Linked DNA regions of Homo sapiens: all the other regions are linked to region 4. The links are contacts of gene promoters, found by promoter capture Hi-C in blood cells and fetal thymus (Javierre and others, 2016). All regions are on one chromosome and are shown on one strand. Each heading gives the region's core, a stretch centred on a gene start or on the middle of the fragment in contact. The rest is flanking DNA. Distances are from core to core; before and after follow the strand shown. Region 1 holds the start of LOC124904769 (U7 small nuclear RNA). Region 2 has its middle 58 kb from the start of ARID1A. Region 3 overlaps RPS6KA1 (ribosomal protein S6 kinase A1). Region 4 holds the start of PIGV (phosphatidylinositol glycan anchor biosynthesis class V).

Region 1 (4,442 bases), core at 456-2,955, 180 kb after region 4:
TAAACTTTGCCACAGCTTACTTTACGTAGAGCGGAAAGGATCCAGTGGTGTTTTTGCCAAGGATAAGGCAACAAGTTCCAAATGCTTGTGCCATTTTGGCTGCCCTGATGGCCAAGTTTGCCTCTTTTCAGGTACCATCATTTGTGAGAATCACTCTTAGTAAAGTCCTCATTCTGTGTTTTTTTCCAAAACAAACTTAATCACGTAGTGTTTGAACGAAAGAAACTGCTTTGAAAATTCTATTTGTCAAACAAAGGGATTCTTAACACGTAAGTTAGGAAGGTGAAGGGAAGGATGTTTCTAGATCTTCAAATGCCAGACATAGGGGGCATTCCTGCAGAGAAGGCATGTATCTTGTCAACTCCAGAATTTCCTCTGAGAATGCTGGGGGCTTTTTTCCTCTCAGTCCCCTCTTGATCAGAGCTTTGACTCCCCAGCTCAGACAGTTCTTTTCTGTAGCCATGGGAATTGCTCCCATAATTAGCAGTGTCTCCTGCCTGGAACTCAGACAAGTAAATGTTCAAACCTGGCAGCCGATCCTGGGAAGGAGAGCTGATTAAATCTTTCCTGTCGAGAGGCACCTTTTTGATTTGAATGTGACACCTACATCCCCCACCTCAGGTTTGTCTGGGGGAAGCAGTTTTGCCCATATCTTCATAACTGAAGATCCTGGTATTTTAAAGACACATTTAATCTTAAAAGGAGCCCATTGGTTTCCCAAGTTAAGTAACTTAGGAAAAAGCCTAGGCTTTTTTCCTCTCCTGGCCCCTTCTCCACTAAACACCACCCTGTGTTTGGTATGATGAAAGCTCCTGCTACACAGGTATCATCAAATGCCAGAGGCCTTGAGAAATAAAACGAGTTCAGAACACCACTAAGTACACATAAGTATTAACTACAAATGGAGGAGTGAAAGAGCAGGCAAACTATTTCTTTAGAAGTTTTAGTAAGACGGGCTGGAACCATCAAGCCCCAAAGTGAATACTCTTGGTGATATTCCGTTCCAGGAAAGCTTTCTACAGGCGGAGGTGTATTCTTATCTGGATGTAGCTGGATTATGTACTACCATTCAAACACTTTTGGGAGAGACAATATCCATTTTCCTACTGACATCAAGGCAGCCTTTTAAGTTTATCCAGATTTATTTTGGTTAGTGCAATAAAAAAGCAAGGTTGGAGAATTATGTTTAACAAAAATAAAGTCATTGTATGCTTAAAGTTTCCCACTGAAAGCTGCTTTTAAAGCAGTTTGCTGCTGCTCAGCTCCAGTCACCTCAGCAATACTTGCATTCAGTCAGATTGGCTGTGAACAAAGCAAATTTACTTCACACACAACAGCCCTAAACCTCCACTCTCAGGACAGAAGTCTTCCTTAGCAATGTTTTCTACATGGCTCTGGTTAAGGGCCATTCACTTACCTCTAACCTCTTTCTCCTGGGAGACAAAGGCACCTTTGGGCTGAAGTGACACAGGAGAGTTAGAATCAGATTTGTTATCGACATTGCAGCCTTCAGTTTCAGTAAGAGGCTAAATCTGTCTATTCCAACTACAGGAAGGCAATCTTTATAACCCCTGGAGCACTTGGCCAATTATGCACCTGCAAATATACCATACAGGACATTTCAGGTTCCTAGGCACTTTGAAAACCGATACTTAAACAGACTCAAGGGATGCTATCACCCACCTCGAATAATAGCTGCTTTGGAATCTGTTATTGGCACCAGAAAAAGAAAGAGTCCTCTGAAGTCATTCTAAAGCCATTTTTATTGTGCATTTTCAAACAAAGAACCTCACCAAAAGAACTTCTGTTACAAAATCAGGGTAGAAAGTCAAACTCATCTCATCTAAGAGTCAATTACCCTGGCAATTTTGTGAGGCGATGGGAAATGAGCGTTAGAGGAGAGGACTGTGGGGAGGAGGTGGGATTGGCTTTTAAAATCCCCTGGGTGAGAAGGGTGTTCCCACTGACTCTAAACCCTAACAATTGCAACAGAAGGGCCTCTGTGACTTTCTGGCTATAAACTTTTTATGATTATTAACTGAGGAAACCTAGAATATGTGGAATTTTAACAGTTGGCTTTCAACCTCCATTTGCTCCTTTCTCAGAAACTTGGTTTTGCACAGTGTAATAATCTAAGGCTCAGAATTTATGTTAGTTACCTTGCTGTTCCTTGATAAAAAGCTACCTTCTTACATATCTTACTTCCAATAAAGAGGCAGATTCCCTATGTACTGTTTATCTCGGGAAAGAAATACATGTGGGAAAAGAAGCAATTTTCTTCTCATTGCAATTAAATTAAATCATGACCACCTGTTGTGGGATTATCCTGCCATCTGCTGTTCAAAAGAGAAACAACAGCAGAGAACCAGAAAGAAGAGGCAAAATGTTGGAAAGCTTTGCTCCCAGATGTCCATCAGTTGATTACGGTTATTGGTATAGTTAAAATTTTCAGTGTTACACCTCTTTTAGAATTTATCTATCAGGTTTTCCAGTGTTCACTGAAATTTGTCTCTTAGACAAGTTCTAAAAGAGCTGTAACACTGAAGATGGTTCTCTTCTCTGGAAAAACTTCCCACGGGAAAAACAAAAATCTTCCTTTAAAAATTTTTTTAAAGGATCTCACTTTCTTTCTTTCTTTCTTTTCTTTTTTTTTTTTTTTTTTTGAGATGGAGTGTCGCTCTGTTGCCCCGGCTGGAGTGCAGTGGCGTGATCTTGGCTCACTGCAACCCCCACCTCCTGGGTTCCAGCGATTCTCCTGCCTCAGCCTCCAGAGTAGCTGGGATTACAGGCATGTGCCACCATGCCAGACTCATTTTCGTATTATTATTATTTATTAATAATAGCTATTGTTTTAGTAGAGACGGGATTTCACTATGTTGGCCAGGCTGGTCTTGAACTCATGACCTCGGGTGATCCACCCGCCTCGGCCTCCCAAAGTGCTGGGATTATAGGCATGAGCCACCAAGCCCGGCCTCACTTTCTATTTATTTAATTTTTTTGAGACAGGGTTTGCTCTGTTGCCCAAGTTGGAGTACAGTGGCATGATTATGGCTCACTGCAGCCTCTAACTCCTGGGCTCAATTGATCCTCCCACCTCAACCTCCCAAGTAGCTGGGACCACAGATGTGCGCCACCCCAACCAGCTAATTTTTGTTTTTATTTAAAAAATTTTGTTGAGACAGAGTCCACTCTGTTGTCCAAGCTGGAGTGCAGTGGTGTGATCATGGTTCACTGCAGCCTTGACCTCCCAGACTCAAGTGATCCTCCCACCTCAGCCTCCCAAATAGCTGGGACTACACCACTATGCTCAGCTAATTTTTGTATTTTTTGTAGAGATAGTGTCTCCCTATGTTGCCCAGGCTGGTCTCGATCTCCGGGGCTCAAGTGATCCTTCTGCCTCGGTCTCCCAAAGTGCTGGGATTACAGGTATGAACCACTGTGCCTGGGCTGATTTTTTTTAATTTTTAAATTATTATTATTATTTTTTTGAGACTTGCTCTGTTGCCCAGGCTGGAGTGCAATGATGCAATCTTGACTCACTGCAACCTCTGCCTCCCGGGTTCAAGCGATTCTCCTGCCTCAGCCTCCCGAGTAGCTGGGATTACAGGCACGCACCACCATACCCGGCTAATTTTTGTATTTTTAGTAGAGATGAGTTTTCACCATGTTGGCCAGGCTGGTCTTGAACTCCTGACCTCAGGTGATCCGCCTGCCTTGGCCTCCCAAAGTGCTAGGATTATAGGCGTGAGCCACTGCTCCCAGCCCTGATTTATTATTAATATTTTATTTTGTCTACAGGTTTTCCCCAATCTTTTTTGTTTGTTTGTTTGTTTTGTTTTGTTTGAGACAGAGTCCAGGCTGCAGTGCAGTGGCACGATCTCGGGTCACTGCAACCTCTGCCCCCCAGGTTCAAGTGATTCTCCTGTCTCAGTCTCCTGAGTAGCTGGGATTACAGGCACGTGCCACCACGCCCGGCTGATTTTTTTGTATTTTTAGTAGAGACGGGGTTTTGACATGTTGGCTAGGCTGGCCTCGAACTCCTAACCTCAGGTAATCCACCCACTTCTGTCTCCCACAGTGCTGGGATTACAGGCGTTAGCCACTGTGCCCGGCTGTTTCTCCCTAATCTTATCCATATCCCTGGTTTCTTCCTTGGGATTAATAGGGAAAATATGAAACTTTAATTTTCCCTCACTCTTGGCAAAATAATAATAAGATTTATAATCCTATTAAAAGGCATATTCTCCACTCAGTAATCTAAGTCATATGAGTGCGTCCCCTGGGCTTTTCATTGTCTACCACTCTAATTGTCTCCTATCTGGTCTTCCTTTCTCCAGGGCATTGTTCACACCACTGCCAGTCAGAGTAATCATTTTCCAATGCAAAATTGGTCAAGCCATTCCCCAGCTCAGAATCCTTCAATGGCTCTCACTTTCTTTCTT
Region 2 (4,489 bases), core at 1,874-4,373, 150 kb after region 4:
TGGTTGTGGGTCCCTAGGGACAGTCTCAGCCAGGCTGCTTTGACTGCATGGAGATAGGCTTTGATAATGGGTTGAACAGTGGCCATGGTGGCCACGGTGCTCCTCAGCACCCTCTGTCTCAGGATTGGGATGCAGGATCAGGAGGTGATGGGCGGCATTGGGAAAACCATGATGCAGAGTAGAGGCATCTTTGATACATTCATGACGATGGGGATGGGCTAACGATGCTAACCATGGTTGCCCACGACATCTACATCTTCCCATCGATCCCAGTCTATGTACTGTAATAAAACAAAGTCTTTGAGTTAAAAAATGGACACACAAACAAAAAATACTGATGCCATGAATGTTCATGTACAAGTTTTTGTGTGAACATTAATTTATACAGAAATTTTCATTAGTGTACTAATCAAGGTATTAATACAGAAGTAGTTGAATGTGGTCAGCATCATGCAGTGGATTTTTGTTGGTTTTGACTGCCCAACAGTCTTTCTCTTTCCTCTTAGTAACAGGATGCGTATTCTCTTACGTGTAACCACATAAGGAAGCTGACTCCACTCTTACATCCAGGGGTAACTTGGCTTAAGCCCGGCACACGCTTATCCCCATAGACATTGACTAGATCAGTGATGAACAGGTGACCTTAATTCAGGCCAGTGAGATATAAAAAGACCTTTGCTGGGGCTTCTGGAAAGCATACTTTCTTGTTATTCTGAAGGAGTTTCCTTGAGAGATATTATCTTCCTATTTGAGGTGAAGAAAACACAGATGGCCCTTCTAGAAGCTGCTGTAATCATACTGACGTCACAAAAGAACAAATCTAGGTGCTGGGCACAGTGGCTCACGCCTGTAATCCCAGCACTTTGGGAGGCCAAGGCGGGTGGATCACGAGGTCAGGAGTCCAAGACCAGCCTGGCCAAGATGGTGAAACCCCGTCTCTACTAAAAATACAAAAATTAGCTGGCCGCAGTGGTGGGCACATGTAATCCCAGCTACTCAGGAGGCTAAGGCAGGAGAATCGCTTGAACACCAAAGGCAGAGGTTGCAGTGAGCTAAGATTGCGCCATTGCACTCCAGCCTGGGCGACAGAGCGAGACTCTGTCTCCAAAACACACACACACACACACACACACACACACACACACACACAGGAATATCAAATATTTCAGAAGGAGAAATGGAAAGAAACCAGGTCTTTGGTAACATCATCGAGCCTTAACACTGAGGACAAAGCTTTGCCTGAATTTTCAGCTGATGACTAAATTCTCTTAATTGTTTAAGATAGTTGGAGATGATTTTTCTGTTGCTTGCAATCAAAATATTACACCACATTATTAAAGAAACTTATTTTTTTTTCTTTGAGACAGAATGTCACTCTGTCACACAGGCTAGAGTATAGTAGCATGATCTTGGCTCACTGCAGCCTCAACCTCCCGGGCTCAAGCAATCCTCCCACCTCAGCCTCCCCAGTAGGTGGGGAGTAGGCACCCCAGTAGGCACCCCAGCAGGTGCACGCCACTAAGCTCAGCTAATTTTTTAATTAAATTTTTTTTTCTTTTGTAGAGACAAGATTGCCCAAGCTGGTCTCAAACTCCTGGGCTCAGGAGATTCTCCCACCTTGGCCTCCCAGAGTGCTGGGATTTCAGGTGTGAGCCATCATGCCTGATCAGAAACCATTATTTTTATAGCACTTTGTAATGTAACTCTGAGCTATGTGAATTCAGTGGTAGATACGTTGAATTCTGCCTCTGGGAGTCATGAAAGGATTCATTCCGGGCACGGTGGCTCATGCCTATAATCCTAGCACTTTGGGAGGCCGAGGTAGGCAAGTCACTTGAGGTCAGCCTGGCCAACATGGTGAAACTCTGTCTCTACTAAAAAAAAAAAAAAAAAAAAAAAAAAAAAAACTAGCTGAGCACGGTGGTGGGTGCCTATAATCCCAGCTACTCAAGAGGCTGAAGCAGGAGAATCACGTGAACCTGGGAGGCCAAGGTTTCAGTGAGCTGAGATGGCGCCACGACGGCACTCCAGCCTGGGCGACAGAGCAAGACTCCGTCTCAAAAAAAAAAAAAAAAAAAAAAAGATTCATGTAAAAAGTGACATTTGAATTGCAACTTGCCACTTAGAAAGTATTTACTAAGTATAGGCCAGGCATGGTGGCTCACGCTTGTAATCCCAGCACTTTGGGAGGCCGAGGTGGGCGGATCGCGATATCACGAGTTCAAGACCAACCTGACCAACATGGTAAAACCCCGCCTCTACTAAAAATACGAAAATTAGCCAGGCATAATGGTGTGCACCTGTAATCCCAGCTACTCAGGAGGCTGAAGCAGGAGAATCACTTGAACCTGGGAGGCAGAGGTTGCAGTGAGCCAAGATCGTACCACTGCACTCCAGCCTGAGCGACAGAGCGAGACTCCATCTCAAAAAAAAAAAAAAGTATTCACTAAGTACAATAAGCTAAACAGGCCCGGTGCCATCTGGCTCACGCTTGTAATCCCAGCACTTTGGGAGGCCGAGGTGGGCGGACCACGAGGTCAGGAGATCAAGACCATCCTGGCTAACAGAGTGAAACCTCGTCTCTACTAAAAATACAAAAAAATTAGCCAGGCGTGGTGGCAGGCGCCTGTAATCCCAGGTACTTGAAAGGCTGAGGCAGGAGAATCACTTGAACCTGGGAGGTGGAGGTTGCGGTGAGCTGAGATTGCACCACTGCACTCCAGCCTGGGCAACAGAGCGAGACTCCGTCTCAAAAAAAAAAAAAAAAAAAAGGGGTTATAGGAGGAAGAAAAAGATTAACTAATAAAAGAAACTCAAAGACTATTTCTAGAAAAGCCACATGGCAGAAGGAGGAAAATCAAAAACATTGACCTTTCTCTTTAGAAGTAAAGCCTCCCCCAACCCCAAAATAATAATAATAGTAACAATGATAGGCCGGGTGTGGTGGCTCATGCCTGTCATCCCAGCACTTTGGAAGGCTGAGGTGGGCAGATCACCTGAAGTAGGGAGATCAAGACCGGCCTGGCCAACGTGGTGAGACCCCATCTCTACTAAAAATACAAAAATTAGCTGGGCATGGTGGCGCATGCCTGTAATCCCAGCTACTCGGGAGGCTGAGGCAGGAGAATTGCTTGAACCCCGGAGGCGAAGGTTGCAGCGAGCCAAGATCACACCATTGCATTCCAGCCTGCGCAACAGAGTGAGACTTCGTCTCAAAATAATAATAATAATAATAATAATAATAATAATAAAATAAAATGAAAGAAGTAAAACCTCCCTTGACTTCTTACATCTATCAATCAGTACTTATCCAAACTGTTACCGGAAAGGGGTCCCGATCCAGACCCCAAGAGAGGGTTTTTGGAACTCTCGAAAGAAAGAATTTGAGGTGAGTCCATAGAGTGAAGTGAAAGTAGGTTTAATAAGAAAGTAAAGGAGGCCGGGCGCGGTGGCTCACGCCTGTAATCCCAGCACTTTGGGAAGCCGAGGCGGGAGGATCACGAGATCGCCACCATCCTGGCTAACATGGTGAAACCTCGTCTCTACTAAAAATAGAAAAAATTAGCTGGGCATGGTGGCGGGTGCCTGTAGTTCCAGCTACTCGGAAGGCTGAGGCAGGAGAATGGCGTGAACCCAGGAGGCGGAGCTTGCAGTGAGCCGAGATCGTCACTGCATTCTAGCCTGGGAGACAAGGAGACTCCGTCTTAAAAAAAAAAAGAAAGAAAGAAAGTAAAGGAGTAAAAGAATGGCTACTACATCGGCAGAGAAGCAGCATGGACTGCTCGACTGAGTATACTTATGGTTATTTCTTGATTATGTGCTAAACAAGGGGTGGATTATTCATGAGTTTTTCAGGAAAGGGGTAGAGATTTCCCAGGAACTGAGGGCCCCTCCCCTTTTTAGACCATATAGGGTAACTTCCGAATGTTGCCATGTCATTTATAAACTGTCATGCACTGGTGGGAATGTCTTTTAGCATGCTAATGCATTATGATTAGCATATAATGAGCAGTGAGAACAACCAGAAGTCACTTTCATTGCCATCTTGGTTTCTGGGGGATTTTTGTTTGAGACAGTGTCTCACTCTGTTGCCCAGGCTGGAGTGCAGTGGCACAAACACAGTTCACTGCAGCCTCAACCTCAGGTGATCCTCTCACCTCAGCCTTTTGAGTAGCTGGAATTGTAGGCGGTTGCCACTACACTTGGCTAATATATATAATATATAATATTATATATATTATATATTTTATATATATTTTTATATATTATATATATTTTTATATATTTTATATTTTATATATAATATATTATATATGTTATATATATTATATGTTTTATATATATATAATATATATAATATATATATAAACTTCTTGTAGAGATGGGGTTTTGCTATGTTGCCCAGGCTGGTCTCAAACTCCTGGGCTCAAGCAGTCCACCTGCTTCAGCCTCCCAAAGTGCTAGGATTACAGGCATGAGCCACTACGCC
Region 3 (4,495 bases), core at 1,765-4,264, 230 kb after region 4:
ATCTGCAGAGCTCAGGCACCATCCCTCCCCACCAGACGGGGACCTGCCCCCAACCCAGCAGCCTTGGCCGAGACGTGGTCAGGAGGCCCACCTTGACAGCATACTCCATGTTGGTGGCCTTGTGGACACAGCGCTTGCACTCAGAGTAGGAGCCCACACCAATTGTCTCCTTTACCACGTAGCCGTCACTAAAAACCAGGTTCTTCCCATGGAGTTGCTGTAGGAGACCAAAAATTGTGGCTGACCCCTGGCTCTAGAGTGCTAGGGGTCATCCCCCAGGACCTAAGGTCTTGGCTCAGTAGAGACAGCACCAGGGAAGGGCCAGGAGACTTGGGGTAGAGTGTTGGCCATGTGACCGCAGGTGACAGCCTGCCCCTCTCTGGGCCTCAGTTTTCTACTCTATATAATGGGCATACTCACTGGCTCCCAGCCTGCCTGGACTGCAGCCTGTGGTCAGAGGGCAGTGTAGGGAGTGGGAAACAGGGTCACAACACACATGGAGAGGACTTTAGTTCTGAAAAGTCTGGGCAGGCCTGGGAGGGACGCAGGAGCCCTGAGCTGAGTTCCAGCTGTGCCACTAAGTACGGCTTTGAGTGGCCTGCCTCCCTTTCTGGGGTGTCACAGCTCAACTCATGGGGTGTCTCAAGGTTCTGGGACATTAGCCGTAGCAATGCTGAATGGTGCTTAGTGTGTGCTGTGTGCCAGGCACTATTCTAAGCACTTTCATCAGGTGACTGCATGCCCCACGGCCAGCCCTGGCTTGCGCATGCGGTCCTTGCATCCAGTCTGATTTAATATTTGTCCTGGACTAAGATGTCCCAGTTTGGAAAATAAATTACATAGTCACCTTAACTTTATTTTTTATTTTATTTATTTATTTTTTGAGACAGAGTCTTACGCTGTTGCCCAGGCTGGAGTGCAGTGGTACGTTCTCAGCTCACTGCAACCTCTGCCTCCCAAGTAGCTGGGACTATAGGCACGCGCCAACACGCCCAGCTGATTTTTGTATTTTTAGAGACGGGGTTTCGCCATGTTGGCCAGATGGGTCTGTTTAAATTCCTGGCCTCAAGCAATCCACCCTTCTTGGCCTCCCAAAGTGCTGGGATTACAGGCATGAGCCACCGTGCCCAGCCCACATGAACTTTACATGTATTAACTCTAATAATCCTCATAACAGCTCTATGGAGGAAGCTTCTATCATTTCCCCCATTTACAGATGAGGAAACTGAGGCACGAGGAAGGGAGTATCTCATCCAAAGTCCATTATCTGGTCAGGTGCTCATGTCTGTAATCTCAGCACCTTGGGAGGCTGAGGTGGGCGGATCACTTGAGGTCAGGAGTTTGACACCAGCCTAGCCAACATGGTAAAACCCCGTCTCTACTAAAAATACAAAAAAAAAAAAAAAAAATTAGCTGGGTGTGGTGGTGTATATCTGTAGTCCCAGCTATTCGGGAGACTGAGGCAGGAGAATTTTTTGAACCTGGGAGGTGGAGGCTGTAGTGAGCTGAGATTGTGCCACTGCACTCCAGCCTGGGCAACAGAGCAAGACTACGTCTCAAAAACAAACAAACAAAAAACCCCAAAGTCCATTATCTTGTGAATCTGGAACCCATGCAATGAGCTCCACAGTCTACATTCTTGCCTCTCAACCTGAAACTTTCATTAGCAGTAGAAGTGTACAAATGGGGAACAAGTGTGATGAGATCCAAGTCCTTCGCTACACTTATGCCGGAGACACGACAGTCACTCGGCACCACCACCCTGGGCACCTCCTGACATGTACCCAGACCCTGGCTCTGTGCTGGGAAATGTACACCCATATCATCATCCAATTATCAGGGCCACTGTGTGAGGTGGGCCTTACTGTCCCTGTTTTATGTTGGAGGCCCTACTGGTCCCACAGTGGCATGAGGGTATGAACCTGGTTCTGTCCAACTCAGAGCCTGTGTACTCAGCCATTCTTTAGAAAAGGATAATGGAGCAGCAGCCCCCTGCCCCCCTCACCTGTACCACCGAGTGCAGGGGTGCCTGCGGGGCACGAGGCTTGCCGTCGTCTTCCATCAGGCCGGTGGCCACGAAGCTGAAGCCCCGGAACAGCTGATGGGCCCCAGCGCTGGGGGGGATGCCTGGGGAATCTGTACGGATGGAAGGAGAATGTGAGGGTACCTGAGGAGGTCCCCTCGACCCTGAGGCAGCCCAGCAAAGGGGGAGCACAGGGCCTCCAGACCTGCCTCAGGGGCTGGCCGTGGCGGGAGCCTGCAGAGGGCCTGTCCATCACAGGCCTTGGCCCAACTGCTCATATGTGTTTATTAGACCAGCCCAGTCCTGTCGCATGAGGAACAAAAAAGACTCTCACATCCACCTCCATCCCAGGCCAAGACAGTTCATCCCTTCCTGGATGCTTCCTCCCCAGCTTCCCCATCTTACGTCAGCCCCTTCAGGTCCATCTCTGCACAGCAGCCAGAGGGAAGGTTCCAACCACAAATCTGCCACCCTGCCCACACCTTTCAAAGGTTCCCGTCTGCCTTCAGGAGTAAGTCCAGCTCCTGAGTCTGGCAATTGAGGGCCCTGTGATCCTCACCTCCTCTCTCTCCATACCACAGCTGAGCCATGTTGGACTTCTCAGATCCTTAGAGGGGTCTCTGAGCCCTTGCACACACTGTTCCCTTTAACTAGATAATCCACTCCTTGCCTATCCTTCAAGACTCAACTCGCACGCTCCCTCCTCTGAGAAGCCTTGCCTGATGCTGCTCCTCCGGCCCCTGACTCCTACGAAGCTGCACTTGTCACGTTGCCCAGCGGACTGCTTGGAGAAGTGCTGTCTCTGTCATCAGAGGCGTGCAAGTGCAGTGAGAAAAGCACCCCCTTGTGGATCACCTGAGGTCAGGAGTTCGAGACCAGCCTGGCCAACATGGTGAAACCCCGTCTCTACTAAAAATACAAAAATTAGCCAGGCGTGCTGACACATGCCTGTAATCCCAGCTACTCGGGAGGCTGAGGCAGGAGAATCTCTTGAACCCAGGAGGTGGAGGTTGCAGTAAGCTGAGATCACGCCATTGCATTCCAGCCTGGGCAACAGAGCGAGACTCCATCTTGAAAAGAGGAGAGGAGAGGGAAGGGAAGGAGAGGGAAGGGGAGGGGAGGGGAGGGGAGGGGAGGGGAGGAGAGGGGAGGGGAGGAGAGGAGAGAAGAAAAGCACACCCTCTCCTAAAACATGCCCTTATAGGAGGTTTCCCAGAACATTCCACCCCACACCCACTGTCAATATCTGGCCAAAAAGTTAGGATTCACCAGGTTCCTTCCCAGAAGCTCCCTCACTGGCTTCTTGTAGCAACCCCAGGGAATGAGTGGGTTTGTGGCTGTGCCCTTGTTCCAGATAAGTACACGGAGGCCGGGCAGTCAGGGCAGCCAAAGCTGATTCCCATGCCTGTCCCTGACCTATGGGCACTGTCACCTCTGCTCAGCCACCACACAGTGTGGCTGGGTCAGATTCTTTCTCCCTGACGTGATGGTAAGCCTGATGTGTTTGGTCTTCCCAGTGGGCTGGAAGGTGCCCCGGGCAGGGGTCCTGGCTTTTCTACTGTGGCCTTCACCACCCACACATCCCCACTCCCACTCTCTCACCAGACACAAAGAGACCCACAGAGCCCCATAGTGAGAGAGTCGGGCGGAGTGAGACAGGGACAAAGTCAGTCCCACGGAGCCAGAAACTCACCCGCCTGCCCACCCGCATACCTCGGCCTGTCAGTGTCCCTGACTATCTCTGCCCCCCAAGCTGCCACCGACTCCCGGCTTCCCTCCTGTACCAGCCCAAGACAGACAAAACAGATAAGGGACGCACCCTTGGGTGTGCGGGACGTGAACTCGGTGTCAAAGTAGAAGGTGTCATCAGGCTGAGCCACTGCTGGCTTGAAGGGTGGCTTGATCTCACGACGGTATAGCTTCTGCACAGTGGGGTGGGCACTCTGGTCACCATGGCATCCTCAACAGCCCACCAGGAGCCCCATGCAGGAGGAGGTGCTGGGCTTGGAACATAGGCCATATTGCCCAGCTCTCGGAATTGCTTGCCCTCAGGAGGCCAGCCCTTGTCTTCAAGGGCAGGCTGTGACCCTCTGCTCCTGCGTCTGGGGCCCTCGCTGGCAGAGGCTCCCCTCCCACCACCCTTCCTGTGGCCAAGATGGCTGAGCCCTGGCCAGAGCCCTGGTGTGGGTGGACACACTCACATTCCAGTCAATGGTGGAGTAGAAGACATGCCGCTTGATTTCCTCTGCCCCATCAGGGCCGGAGCCTGAAAGAGCCCAAATGAAGGGTCTGTCCCTGGCTGGCACAAGTCCCAGATATTACCCTGCCCACCAAGCAGCCTCACAGGGCTCTGGGACCAGCTGCTGGAGCAGAGGGGAAAATGGGCTCACTCAGCCTCAAATCTACCCAGCCATCACCCTAAGGCCTGTCACCTACTCAGCATTTTCCACTTTCTGGAGCTTCTGATGAAGA
Region 4 (4,462 bases), core at 1,300-3,799:
GATGCACTTCTGCAGGAACTAAAGATCTGGGTTCAACTCCTGACTCTGTCACTTACAAGTTCTCATTAGTCCCTCTGAGCCTCAGTTCTTTATATAAAAAATGGGAGCAGACTTTTTTTTTTTCCTATCTCACAAAATTGTCATGATGGTGAAACAGACCAAAGTGTGAAGTTCTACTCAAATCTGTGTTGTGGTTGCTATTATTTGGCGTGTGCCCTTTTCCTCTTGCCCAGAATAATAAACTAGGTCCCAAACCAGAGTCCCCAAAGTGGGGCATAAAACCATACTAGAAGACCATAATGACTCCACACTCTAGCTTAGCTCTCTGATGTGTGTTCAGCTGGTCTGTTAAATTAAGTGGGGAAGGAAAAGAAAACCACCACTCAGCAGGACCTCAGCCAGCTCACACTGCTGAAACAAACTGAGGGTGAAGACAGAGTAGACTACCAGGGATGGAGAAAACTGTTATTTGCCATCTCTTTGTTGGGATGGTAGCAACGTATAAACAATCGCAAAGCCACTCCGAGGCAGGGAATGCACCTTAAGGCATCTTTTATAATTCCTTGAGCTAAAAGGAGTCATAAAGGCTCCTCAAGAACTTTCAAACACCAGCCTGGGAAATTTGAAAGGAAAGCAAAAGCATCAGAGGCAGCTCATCAATTTGGGATGAAGAACTATGCCTAAAAGGAAAAAAAAAATTTGAACTGAGAAATTTAAGGAGGACGGCTGGAAGACTCTTTTTCTTCTCTTATCTGGCGAATACCTAAAAAACCTGTATCACTTGTTTCTGGAATTCTCTGATCCTCACTAGACAGTGTGCTATGCCCTCATTACATTCTGCCCTATTGCCGTTATTGCTATTGCTTATTTAAGTTGCTAAGGGCAGGGGCTTTACATCACAACTATATCCCAGGGCCTAGAACACAAATAGGCATCTTAAACCTGTGTTCTGAATGAATGGAAGTGGTAGGGACAGGATACAGCATCAGCAGTTCACTGACTCTAGATATGAAATCAGTGCCCCAAGTATTCTTCCCATCATATCTCATGTCAAGAGCAAGACGACAAAGTCACAGAAGCCACAGGAAAATAAAATTTCCCCAGAAAGGGAGCCAAGTTGGCCAATGGCAACAGTACTCTTTCCTTGGCACAAGGGGGCGCCTGCTGCTTACTCCATCGCCAGGAGGCCTGGAGGAAGGGAGGGGCCCCCAATTCCACACCGGTTGGCTCACGAAAATTCGGTTCAAAGGCAAGCTTCTGAAAGCCCCAGACAGTAACGATAGTTTGTGAATCTAAACGTTTCCAACGTATGACTCGCTGAATCGAGAGAAATCACGGAAATGGGCATACTCAACCTCACGCGGCTACTCCTTCCCTATCCTAGGGCGAATTCACTCTTTTTTCCTCTTCCTTGGCTTCCCACGCGCATGCAGAAGAGAAGCTGGGATCAGAAAAGCACCTAACCCACCTCTGCCACTTGACCATGCTTGCATTCTTCCTTTCCTCTCTCGAGTCAAGCTCTAGCCTCAGCGACTACAGATGTGTGTAGCCCACACTTTGCTTACAGGTAAACCAAGTAAAAACAAAGCTAGTCAATTCTCCCTCTCAGCTAATTGCCCACCTCACTTCCCAACAACCCCTTTGCCAAATCACAGACTCTTAACTGGCAGGACACTTACAGATCAACTAGTTTCACTCTTCAAAAATTTTCCCGTGAGATAAATAGGCTCCAGAGATCTCATCAGACACTGTGAGGCTAGTATAATTACCATCGCCATTTTATGGATATGGAAACTGAGGCTCACTGGGGTCAAGTGACGTACCCAGGGCTACTTAAAGAGGCTGTCATGTTTTCTGCTTCTTAAACCTCACGGTACCAGCCCGCATCCCTCGCCAAAGGGTACGCGCCCTTTCCGAGCCAGGATTATGACCCAGGTCACCCAAACGCCTAGCCCAGTACTTCCATGCCGCAGCCTGCCCTTGCTAGGTATGCTTAGGGTAGTTGGGCCCTATCTGAGAATCTGGGACATCCTGTTGAACGGCAGCTCTGGACCCTCTGGGTAAGACTAACACCCCCTGCGCAGGCTGGAGAAGTCGCTCTGACCCAGGGTCCTCAGAGCCAAAGGCCTCGTGGGGGCTGCCTTCTGTCAGCCCAGCCGTGTCCGCAACCCGTTTCTGGCCGGCTCCTTTTGGACACAGTCCCTTCTGGGTACTAATCATCCACGCTCACCCCAGAGGGGCCACGGCCCAAGGACCACTCCCGAGGGAGCCTGCAGAGCCCCACCAGGCCACAGGGCCGGAAGCAGACGAGGGCGGGAGGCTGGAAAGGAAGAGGCGGCGCCCGAGGCTGCTATGGCGGAGGGGCGGGGCTCCCCGCTTCTCCGGGCGTCTGTCTCATTTCTACCGGCTTCCATTTGACAGCTTCCCTCCCGCCAGAACTCCAGGGCTCCCAAGCTGGCGCGGGGTCCTCAGCCCCTGCCCGTCCCGACCTCCCCGGCGGGGACCGAACCTCAGCTCCTCCATCCGGGGCCCACGCGGCCCGCGCCTGCGCGCTGGCTCCGCCGACGGCGTCCCCGCCCCGCTCCTGCCCGGACTTGGAGCAGCCCCGCCTCCCTGCGCGGCGGCCATGTTGACTCCGGGCGAGCGGGATGGGGGTCGCCGCTCGGCGCCTCGCCTCGTAGCACCTTCCCACCTTGGTGACACCTGAAGAGTTCTCTCGCACTTCGCTCTCCTTCAAGGCCCCCCGCCACCCCGCCTTCAAATAGTGAGCGGAGGCTGCTGTCTCAGAGTCAGTGCTCTTGCCCCAGCTCCCGCTGACGTTCACTGAGTTCCCGGTGTGGGCCGAGGCTCTTGTAGTCGGAGGCTGACCCGCAGCCTCTTCACAGAAACCAGAGCCGCGCTCTTCCTGCTGTCAGGCAACAACAGCTCAGCACAGGGCCTGACACACAATAGATGTCCTCTGAATAGCCAAAGAAAAACATTCTTGGGGTTTCTGTGGCCGGCAGCGGCACCCTGCGTCCTGGGTGTGAAGAAAGTGGGGGATCCCCCTGATTTTCCCCTCCTCTATCTACCAGAGACCTTCTGTCCTACTTTAGTCCTCAGCCCCACCTCAGGTGGCTAATGAGGATGGTGAAGAAAACCTCAGAGAACACCCTCCAGGGCTCCTTTCACCTCCCTCACCCAAGCAGTTTCTCTCATAGGAAGTGGGGCCAAAAAAAGAAGAAAAAAAAAGAGGCGAACTCAACAAAACCGTCTATTGGGGGGAGCGGCCAGTTTGTACCCTTGTAACGGAAACTGTTAGAACAACTTTGCACCCTCCTTAAAGGAAACAGATGATAAATCCTTCTCCGTTGGTGGATTTCTTGTTTCTCAGGATTCCAAAGCCTTATGTGGTTTCAGTTATCTGCCCTCCAAACGAAGCCAGGGGCCGGGTTAGCCTCTGGCCACAGCCTGGCTCAGGGAGGGGTTTATCTTCTGCAACGGCTACTCATGTGGGTGGGAACAAAGAGATGGTTGCTACCTCTCCAGGCGAAGACCAGCCCACATCAGTCTGTGGGGGCCTGGGACTGTATCTCTTGACTCTGTAACTCATTTCAGGCCCTGAGACCTAAATTGCCTTCAGATATCTGTTGTGTGCAAGGTGGAGAAAAGGCAAATCATATTTAGTCGTTGTGTGTTGGAGAAGGGGGAAAAAATGGAGTTTCATGGCCCTTCCCCCAGGTTTTTCAGTGCCACGCACTTGTTCTCAGCTCCAGAGGCCTGTGAGTAACGTGGCAAAGCCTGGGGACACACTTGTGACTGGGGCCTAAGGCTGTGACTTGAATCTCTAGAAGTCCACCATGAGGCTCCAAGCAGCACTCTCTCTGCAAAGACAAAACTGAGAAATGAACTGTCCTTGCTCTGTAAATTCACAAGGGGAAAAAAGACATGCATTCTCAGGGTTCCCTCTGTCCACATCAAATTCTCTCAAAAATCTATTTGTAAAAAGGCCAGGGGTCTCTCAAGACAAGTCAGAATGTTTTTTAAAAGCTCAGCTGTCACCCTGTAGAGGTAGAACTTTATCCAGATTTTCAGCTGTACTTTCCTGCAATTTCTCTTTTCCTTCTCTGCTACCCAACCCCCTCCTCTTCCGCTCTGTTTCCTGTTTCATTTTCTGACTTCTGCTCTGACAGGAAAACAAGGAAGCTGAATCTTGTGCTCTCAAAGCCCTGACTCCCTGGTTTCAGATTGGAAGAAGGCTAGGTGGGATAGGAGGGGATTCTGGGACTCCAAGGCTTTGAGTAGTGACGGAGGCAGCCTCTCAGTGTTCTTGTAGAGTCTGCAGCTAAGATGGAGCCTGCATCTACCCAGGGAGCCAGCTGAGCTACCAGAACTGTGGAAAGCAAGTGAGAAAGAGCCATATCCCAGGCTCCAGAAAGACTCCACACTTCCCAGCCATTTCCATTAAGAAGCACATATCCCA

What was found. The method cuts DNA at HindIII sites, captures the fragments that hold promoters and counts their contacts. A CHiCAGO score of 5 or more calls a contact.
Region 1: a contact is called between a fragment that was not itself captured here and the fragment with the promoter of PIGV in region 4, in 17 of 17 cell types (megakaryocytes, activated CD4 T cells, naive CD8 T cells and 14 more). The highest score is 167.7, in megakaryocytes.
Region 2: a contact is called between a fragment that was not itself captured here and the fragment with the promoter of PIGV in region 4, in 2 of 17 cell types (neutrophils and total CD8 T cells). The highest score is 6.3, in neutrophils.
Region 3: a contact is called between a fragment that was not itself captured here and the fragment with the promoter of PIGV in region 4, in 12 of 17 cell types (neutrophils, erythroblasts, M1 macrophages and 9 more). The highest score is 8.2, in neutrophils.

The regions. Positions count from the first base shown.
Region 1 is chr1:26,600,440-26,604,881 of GRCh38, reverse strand. LOC124904769 (U7 small nuclear RNA) reads left to right here and starts at 2,450; the gene lies at 2,450-2,513. The HindIII fragment of the contact is 1,382 bases long and covers 1,015-2,396 here.
Region 2 is chr1:26,636,119-26,640,607 of GRCh38, reverse strand. No RefSeq gene overlaps it. Among named protein-coding and RNA genes, the nearest start is that of ARID1A, 58 kb to the left of the region's middle. The HindIII fragment of the contact is 3,775 bases long and covers 1,236-4,489 here.
Region 3 is chr1:26,556,448-26,560,942 of GRCh38, reverse strand. RPS6KA1 (ribosomal protein S6 kinase A1) reads right to left here. Exons shown (of 22, transcript NM_002953.4): 12 at 4,225-4,289; 13 at 3,843-3,945; 14 at 2,006-2,136; 15 at 92-217. Among named protein-coding and RNA genes, the nearest start is that of MIR1976, 4.2 kb to the right of the region's middle. The HindIII fragment of the contact is 3,642 bases long and covers 1,194-4,495 here.
Region 4 is chr1:26,786,037-26,790,498 of GRCh38, reverse strand. PIGV (phosphatidylinositol glycan anchor biosynthesis class V) reads right to left here and starts at 2,549. Exons shown (of 4, transcript NM_017837.4): 1 at 2,231-2,549. RefSeq lists enhancers at 973-1,102, 1,910-2,109, 1,797-2,623, 2,670-3,109, 3,630-3,779 and a silencer at 2,410-2,619. The HindIII fragment of the contact is 3,281 bases long and covers 1,257-4,462 here.